Linked DNA regions of Homo sapiens: region 1 is linked to region 2. Evidence: promoter capture Hi-C in 16 types of primary human blood cells and fetal thymus (Javierre and others, 2016). All regions are on one chromosome and are shown on one strand. Each heading gives the region's core, a stretch centred on a gene start or on the middle of the fragment in contact. The rest is flanking DNA. Distances are from core to core; before and after follow the strand shown. Region 1 has its middle 30 kb from the start of TMEM14A. Region 2 holds the start of LINCMD1 (long intergenic non-protein coding RNA, muscle differentiation 1).

Region 1 (4,672 bases), core at 1,754-4,253, 550 kb before region 2:
CAAAAATAAATCTTTTTCTATATGCATATTAATTGTAAATATAAGGAATCAGCCTCTTCTGTAACCCATTCAAAAAAATTTCTGTAGTCATTCCAAAATGGTCTCTTAGATTCAAAGATGAAGGAGCAGGGAATTTTCTTTAAGCCTGTGTCCAGCTCCACTGTGGTTTAACATGGGGACAGCAAGTAACCCCGGTGACTTGATATTCACTAAAATGTTCTATACACTGTTTTACCCCTGACAGAAGGCACTAAGTTCATTTGTTCTCTAGAAATGGAGATACTTTATATGAATGCAGCCCAGAACATGGTTTATATTTAAATATTTTGTGAAATGTACAATTTTATGTAATCTGATAGTGCTACAATAATGCAAAAAAAATCTTTGTAAAAGGTTCATCACCATTTTTTTTCTAATCTTTTGGTTTGAATTTTTAAGTCTTAAATGAAATTTTTGAAAGTACACAAAGAAAAGTACAAAGAATATTGCAATAAACAAACATGATCTCACTACCTGGTTTGAGTAATTATTAATATTTTGTCATGTTTACCTTCAATATATATTTTTTAAAAACACAGACAGAATTGTGTGTGGTGGTAGGCACCTGTAATCCCAGCACTTTGGGAGGCCAAGGAAGGAGGATTCCTTGAGGCCAAGAGTTGGAGACCAGCATGGGAAACATAGCAAGACCCCGTCTCCACATAAAAATTTTAAAAATTAGCTGGGCATGATGGCACATGCCTGTAGACCTGGCTAATCAGGAGGCTGAGGCAGGTGGATTGCTTGAGCCTAGAAGTTTGAGGTTGCATTGGGGTATGATCGTGCCACTGCACTCGAGCCTGAGCAACAGAGCAAGACTCTGTCTCTAACAAGAAAGAAACTCCACAGTTAATATATTAATATAATCTTGTTTAAAATATAAAATACTAACAAATAAGTCTAAAATTTAATAGAACCATCACCTCCATCTCCACTTAAGCAACTTCTATCCAGTCAGTCCAGTCTTTATATTTTTGCACTTACTATGTGGGCTCACCAACCTCTGACTTGTGGACCTTTGGAAATAATTTACATAAACGGCTCCTTTTGTGTACTATTCTGTATTTTCCTCTTTACAATCAATATTATGTTTTTGCAATTTGTCCTTTTTGAGATGGATAGATGACAGATGGACAAATGATGAGACCGAGGGAGAAAGAGAGGGGGTGGAGGAAGACTCCGGTTCATTCCTTTATAATTGTTTTCAAAATTTCAATGTTTAGGTATTGTTGCATTAGAATTAGATCAGAATAAAATATGATAAAACATGCACAGAAGACAATGTGAATCCAAAGCCTACCTATCAAAAACACTCCAGTATCTTTGGAGGGCATTAAATATTTTTAGTGTAATTTTTTAAAAAGCTGAATTTGTCATTGCTTCTTCTGATGACCTAATTTTTACAAAACAATAAAAGGCCAATTCTCTTTTCTGAGCTATATGAAGCTCTTTATTGGATCTTCTGATTCCTCACCATTTTTTAGACTTAGGGTTGGTATTATTATGGTTTGTCAGAGTTAGATGGAAATTCTAGACAGTCATGCATTACTTAACAATGGGATACATTCTGAGAAATATATAATTAGGTAATTTTGTCATGTGAGCAACATAGAGGTTATTCTCCCAAACCCGGATGTAAAGACTGCTACACACCTGGGCTTTATGGTACAGTCTATTACTATTAGGCTACAAACCTGAACAGCATGTTACTGTAGTGAATACTGTAGGAAACTGTAATGCAATAATAAGTATTTGTGAGGCCGGTTGAGGTGGCTCACACCTGTAATTCCAGGACTTTGGGAGGTTGAGGTGGGTGGATCACCTGAGTTTGGGAGTTTGAGACCAGCCTGACCAACATGGAGAAACCCTGTCTCTACTAAAAATACAAAATTAGCTGGGCATGATGGCGCATTCCTGTAATCTCAGTTACTTGGGAGGCTGAGGCAGGAGAATTGCTTGAACCCGAGAGGCGGAGGTTGCAGTGAGCCAAGATCATGCCATTGCACTCCAGCCTGGGCAACAAGAGTGAAACTGTGTCTCAAAAAAAAAAAAAGTATTTGTGTATCTAAACATAGAAAAGTTACAGTAAAAATATAGTATTATAATCTCATTGTATAAGCAGTCCATGGTTGACTGAAATATTATGTAGCACATGACCGTAGCCAATAGCCACCTCCTGTGCCTGAAATTTCCTTGTGTTATGAGTCAGAGTAAATTTTCAAAAGTTTAATAATTATGCTCTAAGATTTACAATTTTGCTGAAATGGCTGTGCTTTGCTTGTCTTTGGAGCCCCTGCTGTACCTAACACAGCTCCTCACACAATTAGCCTTTAAGCAAAAGATAAAATTGAAGATTTTTAAAAGTTCAGGAGCGAAACCTCTTTGGTGTGATCCGGCGAAACTCAATCAAAACGTAGCAGAAAATTCTTCAGATAGTATCTAGTCTGAGAAATCTGGATGTACCCCATATAGTTTCATGTCCAGACCTAGAACTGTGAATGCCAGCAGGCTGGACTGCCTCCTATTTCCCACAACCCTACCTCTCCCTCCAACCTGCCACCCTCCCGCGGTCTGCCCACCTCCTCTCAGGGCTTACCCTGGTAAAGCCCTTGTTGGAATTGGAGATTGAGCTCTGCCTCTCTGATTCTTGGAGACTCGCCGGATCAGATAGCCTAAGTTACCTCAGAGTTCCTGACATGAAAAATTGTAGGAGAAACTGAAATCACAAATGTATGCATTTTTCATCACACTTCATAAATATTGTAAGTTGTAAGTAAATAGTGCTTAGGAAAAAATAAGTAAAGTAAAGCATGTTTAGGAAAAAAATGCTGCTTTTTGGAAAGCTTTGTTTTATACCTTGGTAATCACTGTCCATATTCTCATATTTGTTAACTTTGGAATATGATGACTTCCTTTTATAATAATTATTTACATAAAATTACACATTTACCAAGATGATAATATTGAAGATGTAGTAGGCTTGGTGAGAGGGCAACCTAGCTCTGGTTCTTCTACCATTTAGCTGAAAGACTTTAGGCAAGTCACTTGACCTCTCTAGGCTTCCTAAGCATCCAAAGGAAGCTTTGGTTAAGAAGAGCTCCAATATTATAATGTCAGCTGCTGCCTTTCCTTTTTTCCTGGTGAAAATATGAGAGAGAGAAAGAGACCCACCAACTCTCTGAAACATGGAAGTGTTTTGGAGCATCGAAGGTAGTGAAGAGAAAACATCTAGTACTGGGGATTGTAAAGCAGACCCAGAGAGAACTTATTTTGCAAAAACAAAGAGCAGAGGGGATAAAGACGAACTCCCTCCCCATATTCACACTCACACTCTACCCTTGCATACAGATTATTTTTAAATTTAGTAAGCATCCAATTTCTACTTCTGAATGCCACATTTCTGTTCATTAAGACATAGTCATAAGGAAAATAATATGTCTACTAAACATCTGCTCATTTTTAGAGAAAGGCCAATATGGGTGGCTGAAAATTTTTATCCGTATTTTCTAATTTTTCTACAATGAGTTTTAGCACTTCTGCAATAATATTGAAAATATTTTTAAATAAATAAGGGGAAGAGAGCTTTACATCCATCTTCTTTGTCTTATAAAAATGGCAGAATTCCCTGAGACTGAAATGTCTCTTACTCTTGTGTTTGAGAGTTGAAGTTAATGCTGGTCTTCAGGTATAGGAATGAGAGTGATAGGACATCAAGGTTTAACACTATTTAACATTAAGTACTTAGGAATTATGACCAGGAAGCTATGTATTAGCATCTTCTCTGAATATTTTTTATTACTCCAAATTGTAAAATTTAACATTTCAAATTATTTTTTATTGTAAAACGGATAGAATACAATCTGGGAAAAATAATATTTTCCAGTTTTTGTTGGGTTTTTACATCTCTATGCTAGAAAATATTAATAATACAGGAAAACTAATTGTATTTCAATTTTATGTTAAAATTATGCTATACAAAATGCACACATTTAATTGGTAAATGTATTTTAAAGCGAAAGTATCCAGAAGTTAATTGGTAACAATCTAACAATAACACTGATTAAAAACTCTTGTGAGTGGTAAGAAAAGATAGCTTGATTTATGTTTCTTTAAATATGCAACAAAGGATCTTTTAAGTTAATTTTGTTTTATTATTAGATTGTTACCAAGTAACTTCTAAGATTAGCTGCAACTTAATTCCTATGTCTAAGCCTCTTTGGCTTAAAGAGAAGGTATGTAATGAGACAATCAAATATTTGCCTGTTCTTTAGCACTAGGAATAAGGGGTAACAAACACCACCCAAGGGAAAGTTATGAGAAAAAAAATAACAAAGGTCAAATACTGAGCCAAGATGGGAGTTAGTCTTTACTATACATCATGTCATTTAACCATCATGACAGCACCACCAGTAGGTATTAGCTTCATTTCACATGTTAGGAAACTGAAATTAGAAGAGAGTAACTTATCTGAGCCAATTAAGGGGAGTAGCCTGCATTCAAATTGCGGCTGAAAAGTTTACCAGGCAAGTTATATCTGCACAATAGTAGACTATAGATATTTCTCAATCAACTGAGTTCAGTAAACCCTTTGCTTTGGTTTTATATAAAAACTTCCTTGCTTTCGTAAGATCCA
Region 2 (4,920 bases), core at 711-3,210:
TCCGTCAACTCCTTCCGGGGAAGAGCTCCTTCAGCACGCCTGTGCTATCACTTTCTTCCTCCCAACACTCACCAGATGTGGGGGTGGGGTCCATTCTGAGGGTGACCAAGAGTCGTCATGTTTGACCGGTGTGACATCATGGGCTGCCACTTACTGGCACAGGACTGATGATGATACAGGAACACACATAAAGGGACACAGCAGCAATCACAAAACCACACACCCCACTGGGTGGCCTAACCTAGATTTCTGCCCTGAAGAGGGGCTGTGGCAGGATGAGCAACCGCAACCCGTGGGCAGCAGTCCCCATTCTCTGATTCCTCTTGATTTCTTACGGAAATGGAGAGTTTGGGCTTGTGGGACCTTTGAACATGGATATCAAGGTCATTCAAACTTACCAGAAAACATGTTTTCTTAAAGGTTCTGTCTTTTTATAGTGGTGAGTGGGAGCAGGAATACATTTGCTCCCCTCCTGGTTTAAGGAAAATCAAACAGAAATGTGAATGGAAGTTGAATTCTCCAGGAGTGAATAAGAGGGGACAGTACGATATTTTGACTTTGGAGGCAGGCTATGACTAGAACTCCTTCCATCCTGTGGCCCTCAAAGATGTGTTCTGCAAAGACCCTTGAGGGCAAGGGGATAGGTAGAAAGTTGGATGACAATGTTCACTCATGTTCTCCAACCCTTGCCAGAAGTGTGCTAGCTTGCTCCCCTTCCCTCTCCTCCCCTCCTCTCCTTTTCTTTTTCTTTATTCCTTTCTCTCTCCTTCCTTCCTTTCCTTTACCTTCTTTCTCTCCCTCCCTCCCTCTCTCCCTTCTTAACTTCCTTCCTTCCTTCCCTCCCTCTCTCACTCCTTCCCTCCCTCTCTACCTCCCTCCCTCTTCTTTCCTTCTTTTTTTTTCTTTTGTTTTTGAGACAGGGTCTCACTCTGTCACCCAGGCTGGAGTGCAGTGGTGCCATCGCAGCTCACTGCAGCCTCAATCAAACTCCTGGGCTCAAGCGATCCTCCCACCTCAGCGTCCCCATCCCTGTGCCCAGCTAATTTTTGGTATTTTTTGTAGAGATGGAGTTTTGCTCAGGCTGGTCTTGAACTCCTGAGCTCAAGAGATCCGCCAGCGTTGGCCTCCCAAAGTGCTGGGATTTATAGACAAGAACCCTCATGCCTGGCCTGGCTGGCTTCTTTCTAACAGAGAGAAGACATTATTTAGTCTTAGCCTTATATGTCTTGTCCAGTTTTATCAGGCATTTTAGCCATAATATCCCAAATATGAAAGTGACCCTTTTTTAACACTCCTTTTACCTATACCTGGCATTGTTATCTAATCTTTACCTACATGACCTCTGCCCTTCCAGATGGAAAAGATCCCTCCTGTTAAGGACAGCTGGTATTTGGCCACATCATGTTTGTTTTCTGTTCTGCCAGGTGACTTCCGGGTGACAGCTCTGCGACTGCGCTTCAAGATCACCCTGCTTCTACTCCCAGAGGCATACCCCTAGTTCGCAGGGAAGTTCCATTTCATCACAGACCTGGGAAGCAGAGAGAAGCTTGTTGCCATCCTTCCCCCACACCTTACTACTGCTTTGAACCAGTGTGCTGCATTGAAAGAGATAAGTAGAAATAGTTGAACCAAAAATTACATGATCCCATAGTTTGTGCTTAAAATAAACAAAGAAGCTGATCTTTCAGTGAACATGTTTTTATTGAACACCAACTTAATTTCAGGAACATTTCAGGTACATTGTCAGAAATAAAGACTCTTAAGAATGTATTATTATGTACCCAATACTGGTTTCAGGCCTTTACATGTATTCTCATGAAACTCTATGAAGTAGATATTATTATCAATATTCCTACTTTACAGATGAGGAAACCCAGGCCTGGAGAGGTCAAGCAACTTGCTCAAGTGGCACAGCTGGAGAGTGGGGAGCTGGGACTTGAGCCCAGGTAGTGTGTCCCCAGCACCTTCAACTAAACTCCATTCTGTGCTGCCCTTTGGAACACCCACTCAATGGCCTTCACACTCCATGTCCTACTTGGGAGGACATGTGATCTCAACAGCACTCACAAATGAAGGCTTTCCAGACAGGATATTGAAGATGGTAAGATCAGTCTCATGTATAAAGCATTTTTTAAAAGTAAAGCATATTATATGCTAGTCATATGTACTAGGGTGAATGCATGTATGCTACATGCTAGTAGAATTAATAGTTGGAATATAAAAATACCCTATAGGCTGGGCACGGTGGCTCACATTTGTAATCCCAGCACTTTGGGAGGCCAAGGCGGGCGGATCACTTGAGGTCAGGAGTTCAAGACCAGCCTGGCCAACATGGTGAAACCCTGTCTCTACTAAAAATATAAAACTTAGTCGGGTGGTAGTGGTGCGTGCCTGTAATCTCAGCTGCTTGGGAGGCTGAGGCAGGAGAATCGCTTGAGCCTGGGAGGCGGAGGTTGCAGTGAGCTGAAATCGTGCCACTGCACTCCTATCTGGGCAACAGAGTGAGACCCTGTCTCAAAAAATAAACAAAAACAAAAACAAAACAACAACAACAAAAAACAAAACCCTACAGTGAGCAATGAGCCTTTATGTATTTTTTGAGTTCTTCTCCTATTTTTTTTTTAATTTGGCTCTTTCCTTCTACATACAAGTGCCTGTGGACACAGCATTGTCCTTGTGCTGTTGCCATTTACAGCAGTAAAACAACAGCTACTATTTCTTAAGGGCTTATATTTGGCTCTTTATTAACACTGTCTGTTTTAAGCCTTACGGTAACTGAGGTTGGTATCATTGTCCCCATTTTACAGATGAGTAAACTAAGGCTTGTGCAATGTTAATTGAGCTGCGGAGAGGATATATCACAGCTAATAAATTAGAGGGGCAGCATTCAACCCCAGGTCTTCCTGAATGCAAAGATTTGTGCTAGTAAGCTCTGTGTTCTCCTCTGAGGTCACTGTGGTGGGCTCTAGGCACTTATGCTACCCCATTTGTGTCAGAATACAGCATGTGAACACACATGTCTATAGAATTTTAAACCCAAATATTTACTTATTACTGTCTAAGTTCCAGACACACACCATAAAAGATACAAATCTTAAAAGATAAACTGGAAGGACAGGTCAGAATTCTCCCTTAGTAAAAGGTAGCGATTATGAGAACTTAGCTCATTACAGCCTCCATCTCCTGGACTTAAGTGATCTTCCTGCCTCAGCCTCCCAAGTAGCTAGGACTATAGGTGTGCACTACCGCATTCAGCTAATTAAAACAAAAAAAATTTTTTTTTGGTAGAAACAGCATCTTGCTATGTTGACCAGGCTGATCTGGAACTCCTGGCCTCAAGCAATCCCCTGTCTTAGCCACCCCAAATGCTGAGATTTTAGGCATAAGCCACTGTGCCTGGTGTGACAGGTACTATTATCCCTATTCTACAGATCAGGGAACTGAGAAATGATTGCTTAGTGAATAGATATCTTGGGCTGAATAGATCAATAGAGACTTGATGATACATAATGTGCTAGGCATATTTGGTGGGATAGGTAAGAATTATGCCTTGGAACTAGCCATGCTATAACTTGCAATTCAATTGGATCACACCATATATACATGTCTAATTTCTTTCCTTAGACTGTTAGCCCCTAGTGAGCAGGAGCCCTGTCTTCTATGTCTCATGCTCTTCCCCTGGCTGGCTTAGGGTTGGCACAAACTCCATCCTCAAACTCTTTCTTGACTGTGTGTCTGTCAAAAGCATGTAAGTGGCTGCAGCTGTGAGTGCAAAGGCACAGAACAGTGTGTGTTGAGCATTAAAATCTTGCTCACTTTTGACTCCAGGACTCCTCTTCTCTTCCTTCCTGGGAGCATAAGAATATGGTGAAAAAACCAGAATTGTTTTCTCAAGGAAAGTTTTAGTAGGTAATTTCAGTTGCAGTTGAATCTCTTCTGTTTCTCCAAGGACTGGGCATTGCCAGCCCTGCTGTAGCTGGTTGAAGGGGACCAAACCTCTCAGGAAGACGGACTTGGTTCCGTTTGACCAGCCAGAGCAGGGGGCATCTTTCTTCTGAGGTGACTGCAGCCTCTAGTGTGCAGGTATCTTGGTGTGTCTCAAGCATCATTTGTCTAAGCCTGTAATGCAAAAAGAAGCAGCATTAGCATCTGTCAAATGCCAGGAGCTTGCCTTGTCCAGAATGTCCTCTTACATGATTTGTACATACATCTCATACAATTTGTACATACAAATCATACATAATTTGTATTTCATGTTGCATGACTTCAATTTATTTTTTCTTTAATCTTTAATCTTTTTTCAAATAGAAACATCATGAAGATCAAATATGCTATAGAATTATAGAATATGAAAAATGACAGTATGCCATAATGCTTCCTCTTCCCATTTTCCGAAAGAAATGTAACATTTTGGCATATATTCTTTGAATGCTTAACATTTTAATTTCTTTAAATTATGTTTTTAATTCAAGTATGATATATTTATAAAAGAATATTTATAATATATAAGTGATGGTACATAATGGTAAAACCAATACCCATGAACAACGATCTACTTTTTTTTGTTGTTACTTTTTTGAGATGGAGTCTCACTCTGTCACCCAGGCTGGAGTGCAGTGGCGCTATCTCAGCTCACTGCAACCTCTGCCTCCTGTTTCAAGTGATTCTCCTGCCTCAAACTCCTGAGTAGCTGGAATTACAGACACCTGCCACCATGTCCCGCTATTTTTGTATTTTGAGTAGAAATGGGGTTTTGCCATGTTGGCCAGGCTGGTCTCAAACCCCTGACCTCAGGTGATCCACCCATCTCAGCCTCTCAAAGTGCTGGGATTTTAGCCGTGAGCCATCACGCCTGGCCCAACGATCTACCTTTTAAAAAGAACTATTTTTTACTGTTTTATACTATTGCTTTCTTTGTAC

The links. The method cuts DNA at HindIII sites, captures the fragments that hold promoters and counts their contacts. A CHiCAGO score of 5 or more calls a contact.
Region 1: a fragment that was not itself captured here is called in contact with the fragment with the promoter of LINCMD1 in region 2 in 7 of 17 cell types (non-activated CD4 T cells, naive CD4 T cells, naive CD8 T cells and 4 more); the score reaches 6.5 in non-activated CD4 T cells.

Annotation. Positions count from the first base shown.
Region 1 is chr6:52,698,510-52,703,181 of GRCh38, reverse strand. No RefSeq gene overlaps it. Among named protein-coding and RNA genes, the nearest start is that of TMEM14A, 30 kb to the right of the region's middle. The HindIII fragment of the contact is 238 bases long and covers 2,885-3,122 here.
Region 2 is chr6:52,148,063-52,152,982 of GRCh38, reverse strand. It overlaps LINCMD1 (long intergenic non-protein coding RNA, muscle differentiation 1), which reads left to right and starts at 1,960. Exons shown (of 3, transcript NR_131248.1): 1 at 1,960-2,101. It overlaps MIR133B (microRNA 133b), which reads right to left and starts at 4,060; the gene lies at 3,942-4,060. RefSeq lists an enhancer at 1-132. The HindIII fragment of the contact is 4,773 bases long and covers 1,549-4,920 here.